2 separate regions of the Homo sapiens genome follow, and region 2 is linked to region 1. Evidence: promoter capture Hi-C in human tissues and cell types (Jung and others, 2019). All regions are on one chromosome and are shown on one strand. Each heading gives the region's core, a stretch centred on a gene start or on the middle of the fragment in contact. The rest is flanking DNA. Distances are from core to core; before and after follow the strand shown.

Region 1 (4,492 bases), core at 1,854-4,353:
CCTCCACCTCCCGGGTTCAAGTGATTCTCCTGCCTCAGCCTCCCAAGTAGCTGGGACTACAGGCACGCACCACCATGCCCAGCTAATTTTTGTATTTTTAGTAGAGACGAGGTTTCACCATGTTGACCAGGCTGGTCTCAAACTCCTGACCTCAGGTGATTCACCCTCCTCAGCCTCCCAAAATACTGAGATTACAGGTGTGAGCCACTGCACCCGGCCTACTTTTTTTTTTTTTTTTTTTTACGAAATAGAGTCGCCCAGGCTGGAGTGCAATCACGTGATCATAGCTCATTGTAACCTTGAACTTCTCATCTCAGACTCCCAAATACCTGGGACTACAGGCATGAGCCACTGCAGTTGCCTATTTTTTTTTTTTTTTTTTTGTAGAGACGGGGGTCTGGCTATATTGCTCAGGCTGGTCTCGAACTCCTGGCCTCAAGCAATCCTCCCAAAGTGCTGGGATTACAAGCATGAACCTCCACACCCAGCCCCTAGATATTCCTGGAGGCCAGTTTGCATTATATCCAGAGGACAACCACAAAATTCTCATGCCATGCCCTCCCCAAACCCCTAGGGGATCTTATTTTCCTCCACTACAGGATGGAGTATTCCTACCCAACCAGAGGATGAGGTATTCCTACCCAGCCCTTTGAGGGCTCTTCTGTCTTGCATTCAAAGTGCTGAGAGAGGAGGAGGCTACCAGCCATCCTTATCTGGTGCCAGATACCCTCTGGCTGGTGGAGGATGGAGATTCAAAGGGAACGTGACTCTGTTGTACCCCGCGAACCCAAGGGCTCGGCCCTTGCTCCCTCCCAGTCTCAGTACCCCTCCTCTACCATTGCCACTGGCATCTCTGCCCCAAGATTAGCGACTTTCTCCCCCAGGACCCCCCTTCCCAGATATGCTGGGTGCCAGGCTGGCATTTCTCCTAGAATGTTTTCTGCTGACCCATCTCTCCCTACCCAGGGGCAGGAAGGGCAGAGAGGCCCGAGGCCCAGACCCCTGGAGTCCACCTCCTTCCTGTTTTCCCTGCATCCTGCTCTCCTCGGCTGACAAGCTGCAGAGGATTGAGGAAGTGGAGGGTTTGGGTCCCAGGACAGGAAGCTTGGGGCTGGAGTCCCAGCATCCGGACTGCAACAATGGAAGCTTCAAGCACCAGGAAAAGAGACAGAGACAGACAGAGGCACAGGAGAGCAAAACAGGGTCGGAGATGGAATGAGAAACAGAGGCATAGATACAGAAAGACAGACAGAGAGATTCCCAAAGTAACAGGGAAAGACCAACAGTGACAGAGACACAGAGAAACAGCAACAGAAAGAGAGGGAGAGAAGCAGAGCAACTGAAACAGAAACACAGAATAAGGTGGAGAAAGAAACGCACGATGGGCAGAAGACACTGAGGAAAACAGAACTCGAGAGCATGACTAGTGAAACTAGAGGTTGAGAGACAAATCAGGAAGAACAAAAGAGCAAGAGAAAGAAGGAAAAGAGACTGAGAGTCTAAGGAGAAACTGAGAAACAAAAAAAGAAAGTGTAAGAATGAGGTTAGGGCAAGGGCCTTCTCAGAGTCTCTCTCTCTCTCTCTCTCTCTCTCTCTCTCTCTCTCTCTCTCTCTCTCTCTGTCTCTGTGTGTGTGTGTGTGTGTGTGTGTGTGTGTGTGTGTGTGTGTTTCTCTCTCTCTCTCTCTCTCTCTCTGTTTCTCTCCCCTGGCGCCCTGGCCCCTTCTCTATTCCCTATCCCACACACATGAGGCTCCTGCAGCTCTCGGCTAGGAGCCAAGACTTTTCTACCACCTCAAATCCTACCTGCCTGGAGAAAAGAACAGGGGGCCTGTATACCAGGGCAGGCAGAGGTGTCCAGGCCTGGCAGAGGGACCCCTGTCTTCCCACTGCCTCTCAAACAACAAGGTGACCTGGCTCTGGGCTTTGGGGAAGGGCAAGTCTAATGCCCCTCAACGCCAAAGTCCCTCTAATTTGTATGTCCCACTCCACCACTGGACCATGTAAAAAAAAAGTTCAGGCCCTGGCTCCCCAGACCACTGGGATTTCACCCTCGGCCTGGATCAGGAACAGAAAGCTTTCCCCACTCCCTCATCCTCCCCAACACACACCCCACCACCATCCTCCAGTTCTCTGGCCCTAGACAGCTGACTTAACTGGACCTTAATCTGCCACTCCTGCACCAGCAGCCAGGCCTCCCACTGGGACCCCCTTATCAAACAGACAACCCTTGGAGGTTTGAGATGGAGCGATGGGACAGTCTCCCTTGGTGGTGGCAACAGGCTGCTAGGGACTCGGTAGCAGTTTCCTTGATGAGCCTGTCCCATGCCAGTCGGGCCCTGCCACGTACCTGCCTTCTCTTCAACTCATAGGGGATTTTTAAGGGCCTTCCAGGGCGGCTGGAATGGGGAAGAAGCCGCTGGGAAGGGAGCGCACTCAGGAGGGAATTGGGAGGCCAGGGGTACCTTACCAGAGGGCTGCAGGCTTTCCTGGATGGCCTCGATCTCCGCCAGCTCCATGCACACGCCTTGCCCGTGCATCAGTGTGTGCAGGGGCTTCTCCACCCCTCGGGGCGGGTAGCAGCGCAGGCCCGAGCCGCAACGGGGGGTGTACACCCCGCAGGGCATCCCCAAGCCCAGGGCGCAAGTGGCGCAACAGCCGCAGCCCGGCTCTCGCACCAGCTCCTCGCAGCCCACGGGGGGGCGGCAGCGCGCCAGCTTCTCCTCGGAGCAGGGCGGGCAGTGGATGGCTTCGTCGCCCAGGCTCGGCCCGGGCCCGGCGGCCAGCAGCAGGGCGGCCACGAGGCAGAGGGGCAGCATGACCGCCCGAGGACTGGGCGCGGGCGCGGGGCGCTGGGCGCAGGCGGGGAGCGCGGGCGCGCGGGCGAGCGGCGGAGGGCACACGGCGGCAGCGCCTGGCGCTCCTGGAGGACCCGACCCGGAGGGCGCGGGGAGACGGGGCGGCCCGGCGGGCGAACGGGGACGTAGCGGGGGAAGTTAGCAGGCGTGCCGGAGGGGAGCAAGCCTGGCCGCCGAGGCGCTGCGCCGCATCCTCGGCCCGGCCCAGGCAGGCGGCGGGCGGCGAGGGGCAGGGGGCTGAGCGGCTGCCCGGGACCGGCTCCCCCGGACTTTATACCGGTCCCTGGCCACACCCCCAGCGCCTTCCCAGAGGTGGGGGAGCCGGGGCGGGCGAGGGGGAGAGGGAGAGGCGGCCGTTAGGGGGAGGGGGCGCTGTCCTGAGTCGCCGCCGCCGCCGCCGCCGCATCTGAAAGTCCTTTTCTGCCGAAGAAGGAAGCGGCGCAGTTTGGAAGCTGTAGCAGGCGCCCAGAGTGCCTCTGAACCGGAGCCCCGGAGGGGAGGCAAGGGAGAAGGGAAGCCAAGGGGCTGCTGCGGGGCCCCCTTTCCCGACCTCGGAGGAGTCTCGTCCCGCCCCGCCAAGGCGGCCTCAGTCTCCCACCGAGAAAGGGACTTCCTAGCCCGGACTCCCGGCTCTGCGGATCCGGTCTTCCTGGACAGAGCCCTTTCCACCGCACCCCGGTGCTTCCAGCCTCAACCGCTGGAGACCAAGCCTCCTGAGGTGGGGTAAAGCGTACAGGCACAGCTAGGGGCACAGAAAGGCCTGGAGGCCCTAAGACGTTAACAGGCTCTTGCCACTTGCCCCTTGCAACCTCTCCCGCCCCCGCAATCTCCCCAGGGCGCATTTGGGCCCTGGTCCACCCTGCTTCCCCAAGATGGAATCAGCAGAACTCCCGGGGAGGGAGGTGCCGCCGAGCCTCTTCCTCCTTCTTGGATGTTTGCCTCTCAGGCCCATTCAGACCCACTCGTGGAGGGAGGCAGGCCTGGGAGATTGCCACTTGCAATGTGCAAGTTTTGCGTTGAACAACTCCAGTGGGGCACCATTCCTTGTAATCATTGTGTATTTGTAGAGCTGTTGTGATCATTTCCCAGATGGCAGTGAAGGATTTGAGGGGCCTGCAGCAGTGACTCACACCTGTAATGTCAGCACTTTTGGAGGCTGAGGCGGGAGGATCACTTGAGCCCAGGAGTTCAAGACCAGTCTGGGCAACGTAGTGAGACCTTGTCTCTACAAAAAAATTTTAAAATTAGCCAGGTGTGGTGGCGTTCACCTGTGGTCCCAGGTACTCGGGAGCCTGAGGCAAGAGGATCACTTGAGCCCAGGAGTTGGAGGCTGCAGTGAGCTAGAATTGTACCACTGCACACCAGCCTAGGTGAAAGAAGGAAACTCTGTCTAAAAAAGAAAGAAAGAAAGAAGGCCGGGCGCGGTGGCTCACGCCTGTAATCCCAGCACTTTGGGAGGCCGAGGCGGGCAGATCACGAGGTCAGGAAATCGAGACCATCCTGGCTAGCACGGTGAAACCCCCTCTCTACTAAAAATACAAAAAGTTAGCCGGGCGTGGTGGCGGGTGCCTGTAGTCCCAGCTACTAGGGAGGCTGAGGCAGGAGAATGGCATGATCCCGGGAGGTGGAGCTTGCA
Region 2 (4,238 bases), core at 149-2,648, 320 kb after region 1:
TGACTTCAGCTCCTCGATCTCCTTTTCCTTGGCCTGCAGCTGCTGCTGCTGCTGTTCGATGAGGTCCAATTGCAGCAGAAGGATCTGTTTGAGGCAGGCGGCCTGACTGGAGGCTCCCGAGCCGCCACCACCCCCGAGAGGGCTCTTCCTCATACTCTTCCATCTGCCCTCGCTGGCCGCCAGGGTCCCGGCGGTGGCGGTGGGCGCGAGGGGTGGCGGCCCGGGCAGAGGTAGTGGTGGGGGTCCCGCCGGGTCCGAGGCGGTGGCAGCGGGGGAGGCCGCCCCACCCTTGTCCCCAGCCCAGGGCGTAGGCTCTTTGGCCGCCGCCACGAGAGAGCCCGTCTGAATGGGCAGCACCGCCTGATACTTGGGCCGGGGGCTGCAGCCGGCTCCGGCTGCGGCAGGCTCCCCCCCAATGCCGGCTTGCTTGGTGGCCGGGGGCGGACAGGGCAAGGGCACCGAACCGCCCCAGCTCTCTTCCTGCTGCCCGGGGGCCGCCCCGGCCGGGAGTAACAAGCCCCGGCCCTTGCCGCCGCAGCCGGCCGGGGAAGGCGCGGGGCTCCCGCCCTGGGAGGAGGCCAGCGGGGGCCCCGGCTCCTTGAGCTTACGGTGCCGGGGGAGGAAGTGGGCTTCGGCCGCCCCAGGCTCGTCCTCGGGCCCGCCCAGCGCCGCAGCCCGCTCGTAGTCCAGTCGCTGCTCAGGATTGCCGCCGGCAGGGGCCGCGGCCGCCTTGAACACCGCGGATCTCATGGTCATAGTGGTCCGGAGCAGCGCCGGGCACCGAGGCGGAGGAGGGGGTGGGGAAGGGGCGAGGTGCGGGGGGTCGAGGACTGAGGGGGGGGAGGGGAGTTTGGCGGGCTCGCCTCAGCAGCGCGGCAGCAGGCCTCCGCTAGCGCGGCTCCTCCGGGGCCCGGGCGCCATCCCGCCGGCGTGCGGAGACGTGGAGGCCGCGGCTGAGGCCCGCCGCCGGCCCATGGGGGCCTCGCCGCCGCCTCTGCTGCCGCCGCCGCCGCCTTCGCCTCAGAGGCAGGAGCTCGCACCCAGCCGCCCCCGAGCTCATCCCCGGAGCTCGCTTCGGCCCCCCCTGGCCCGGCCGGGCCCGCCTCGTCTCCCCACCCCGCACCCCCCCTTCCCCGCCCCGGCCCCCCGCCCCGGAGCTCGCCTCAACCGCCCCGAGCCTCCATTTCCCCCCCCTCCTCCTCAGGAGGGGGTGGAGGGCTGGGTCCGCCCAAAGCCCTCCTACTCCGGGAGAGGGGGTCTGTCGCCTCTCCCGGGGGTCTCCGCGGCTCGGGGTCCCCCTCCCCCACAGTCACCCCCGGCGCCTCAGCGTTTCCCTTTAAAAAAACGGAGCCGCTCGTAGCCGCCACCGCCGCAGCCGCCGCCAACCGGAGGACGCATGCGCGGGGAGGGGAGCGGGCGGGAGTGCACCGGGAGCCGAGAGGAGGGAGGCGGGCCGCGCTATTGTGAAAGGGGCCGCCGCCGCCTCGAGGGGGGCAGGGAGGGGACCGCGGGGGCCGGGGGCCGGCGAGGGGAGGCCGGGGCTGAGGGGCGAGGACCGAGGAGCGCGCGGAGGAGCGGGGTGAAGGTGGGCTGCCGAGGGAGGGGCGAGCCGGGGGAGGGTCTGGAGGGGGAAGAAGGGCGAGGGCGGCCGCGGGAAGAAGGGGAAAGCGGAGGCTCCCCGGGAAAAAAGCGCGAGAGAATGGAGTTGAGAGGAAAGAAGGAGGATACAGGCGGCCAATGTGTGGCCTACGTGGGAGCGCCCCGAGCGCTCCACGTCCCCGGCCTGCGCCGGGCGGCCCCTTCCCCGGGCATCTTGGCAACGCGCCTGGCCCAAGCCGGAGGGGCCCCGCGGCCCCGCACGCCTCCTGGACCAGTCAGGATCCAGGCTCCTCTTTGAGCCCGCGGGTGTTTCATGGGGGTAGAAGTCTAACCCCTCCACCCCCTCTCCTCCCCAGCAGTCCCACGCGGGTATGGGAGAGAATGAAGTTCTTTGTCTCTAAGGGATTCAAACCAGAAACGGAGGGACCTCTGGTTCCCAGAGGGAGGAAAATCCATGATGTCTGCTGCCCAGGGAGCTATTGCCACCGCCTCCTTGGGATGAAGTATTGCCAGCTACCAACAGTTCCTTCCCAACGGCCATCTTCCAGCCTTCTTAAACGACTCCTAGCATCTTCGGGAGGCTCCTGAAGGACTGAAGCAAAGGAAATCTCTGAAGGGATTTAGTCCTTGAAAGGGAGTAGGGATACTTAGGGTGTTCTGTGTTGAGCGCTTCTTCCTATCTCTCCAGCTTCATGTATGTGTGTCTTTATGTCCAAGCAATTGAGCCAACAAGTCCTCAGAATTCCTTGTGAAAAAAACGTTTTTTTTTTTTGAGACGGATTCTCACTCTGTCGCCCAGGCTGGAGTGCAATGGTGAAATTCAGCTCACTGCAACCTCCGCCTCCGGGGTTCAAGCGATTCTCCTGCCTCAGCCTCCCGAGTAGCTGGGATTACAGTCACGCGCCACCACGCCCAGCTAATTTTGTATTTTTAGTAGAGACAGGATTTCTCCTTGGTCAGGCTGGTCTGGAACTCCCGACTTCAGGTGATCCGCCCGCCTCGGCCTCCCAAAGTGGTGGGATTACAGGTGTGAGCCACCGTGCCCAGCCCTGAAATAGTCTTAATTGCTTGTTTTTCTTTTTTGTCTGAGGTGTGCTTTTTAAAATCTCTATGGAGATGGAGAAGACTGACATTCTCTGGCCTGATGTGAAAACCTCTCATTAAAACTGTGTCTGTGCTTTGTGGGCTGAAAGCATGAAACACTGGAAATTTTAAACAAACGTATGTGAATGTGTTAAGAAGCCAAGAGTCCGGCCCTCTTTCACCAGACTGTATGGCCTCAGATCAGCAAGGGAAGTATTGAGCTTAGGGACACCAAGTAATGGAGTGAGCAGGGATGAGAGGGCACATAGAATGTGGTGATCTCTTTCCATGTCAAGGCTTGTGTGTTTGTGGCACTGGGGTCTTGCTGTGTCCCCAAGGCTAGAGTACAGTGGCACAATTATGGTTCACTGCAGCCTCAACCTCCAGGGCTCAAGTGATCCTCCCACCTCAGTCTCCTAAGTAGCTGGGACAACAGGCTTGGGCTGCCACACCTGGCTAACTTTTTATTTTTTTGTAGAGACGGGCCTTTGTAATACCAGCCTTTGTTGCCCAGGCTGGTATTGAACTCGCTCAAGCGATCCTCCCACCTGGGCGTCCCAAAGTGCTGGGATTATAGGAGTGAGCCACTGTGCCCAGCCTTCAGCGTCAAGACTTTCTGCACCATCTCTACGCTGACAGCTCCGTAATTTATATTTCTTTCTGGACTCATCCCCTAACTCCAGAATCATATATCCAACTGTCTAGTATACATACCCAGTTGGATGTCTAATAGGTATTTCTTTTTTTTGAGGTGGAGTCTTGCTCTGTTGCCCAGGCTGGAGTGCTGGAGTGCAGTGGCACGATCTCGGCTCACTGCGAGCTCCTCCCGGGTTCACGCCATTCTGCCTCAGCCTCCCCAGTAGCTGGGACTACAGGCGCCTGCCACTACGCCTGGCTAATTTTTTGTATTTTTTAGTAGAGACGTGGTTTCACTGTGTTAGTCAGGATGGTCTCATCTCCTGACCTCGTGATCTGCCCGCCTCGGCCTCCCAGAGTGCTGGGATTACAGGTGTGAACCACCGCGCCCGGCCTAGGTATTTCAAACTTACATCTAAAAATCAAGCTCCCGAATTCCTCCCACCCAAACACCCAAATACCACTTCTACAGTCTTACTCTTTTTTTTTTTTTTTTTTGAGACGGAGTCTTGCTCTGTTGCCCAGGCTGGAGTGCAGTGGCACAATCTCAGCCCACTGCAACCTCTCCACCTCCCGGGTTCAAGCGATTCTCCTGCCTCAGCCTCCAGAGTAGCTGGGATTACAGGCATGCACCACCATGCCCAGCTAATTTTTGTATTTTTAGTAGAGACGGGGTTTCACCATGTTGGTCAGGCTGGTCTCAAACTCCTGACCTCATGATCCGCTCACCTCAGCCACCCAAAGCTGGGATTACAGGCGTAAGCCACCGCGCCCAGCCCAGTCTTCCTCTCTTTGTCACCCCATTGCCTTTCAAAATGTATGTCCAAGGCTGGACGTCGTGGCTCGTGCCTGTTACCCCAGCACTCTGGGAGGCCGAGGTGGGCGGATCACAAGGTCAGGAGATCGAGACCATCCTGGCT

What was found. The method cuts DNA at HindIII sites, captures the fragments that hold promoters and counts their contacts. A contact is called where the count stands out against the background at its distance.
Region 2: a contact is called between the fragment with the promoter of MSL1 here and the fragment with the promoter of IGFBP4 in region 1, in 1 of the 25 tissues and cell types used here (ovary).

Annotation. Positions count from the first base shown.
Region 1 is chr17:40,442,061-40,446,552 of GRCh38, reverse strand. IGFBP4 (insulin like growth factor binding protein 4) reads right to left here and starts at 3,103. Exons shown (of 4, transcript NM_001552.3): 1 at 2,469-3,103. The coding sequence starts at 2,817. RefSeq lists silencers at 2,897-2,946, 2,957-3,006, 3,017-3,206. The HindIII fragment of the contact is 6,489 bases long and covers 1,612-4,492 here.
Region 2 is chr17:40,119,131-40,123,368 of GRCh38, reverse strand. MSL1 (MSL complex subunit 1) reads right to left here and starts at 1,398. Exons shown (of 9, transcript NM_001365919.1): 1 at 1-1,398. The coding sequence starts at 756. LOC124904001 (a long non-coding RNA gene) reads left to right here and starts at 1,529. Exons shown (of 2, transcript XR_007065752.1): 1 at 1,529-1,585; 2 at 1,956-2,840. RefSeq lists an enhancer at 1-557 and silencers at 258-707, 758-807, 908-1,047, 1,108-1,317, 1,358-1,557 and 1 more. The HindIII fragment of the contact is 12,972 bases long and covers 1-4,238 here.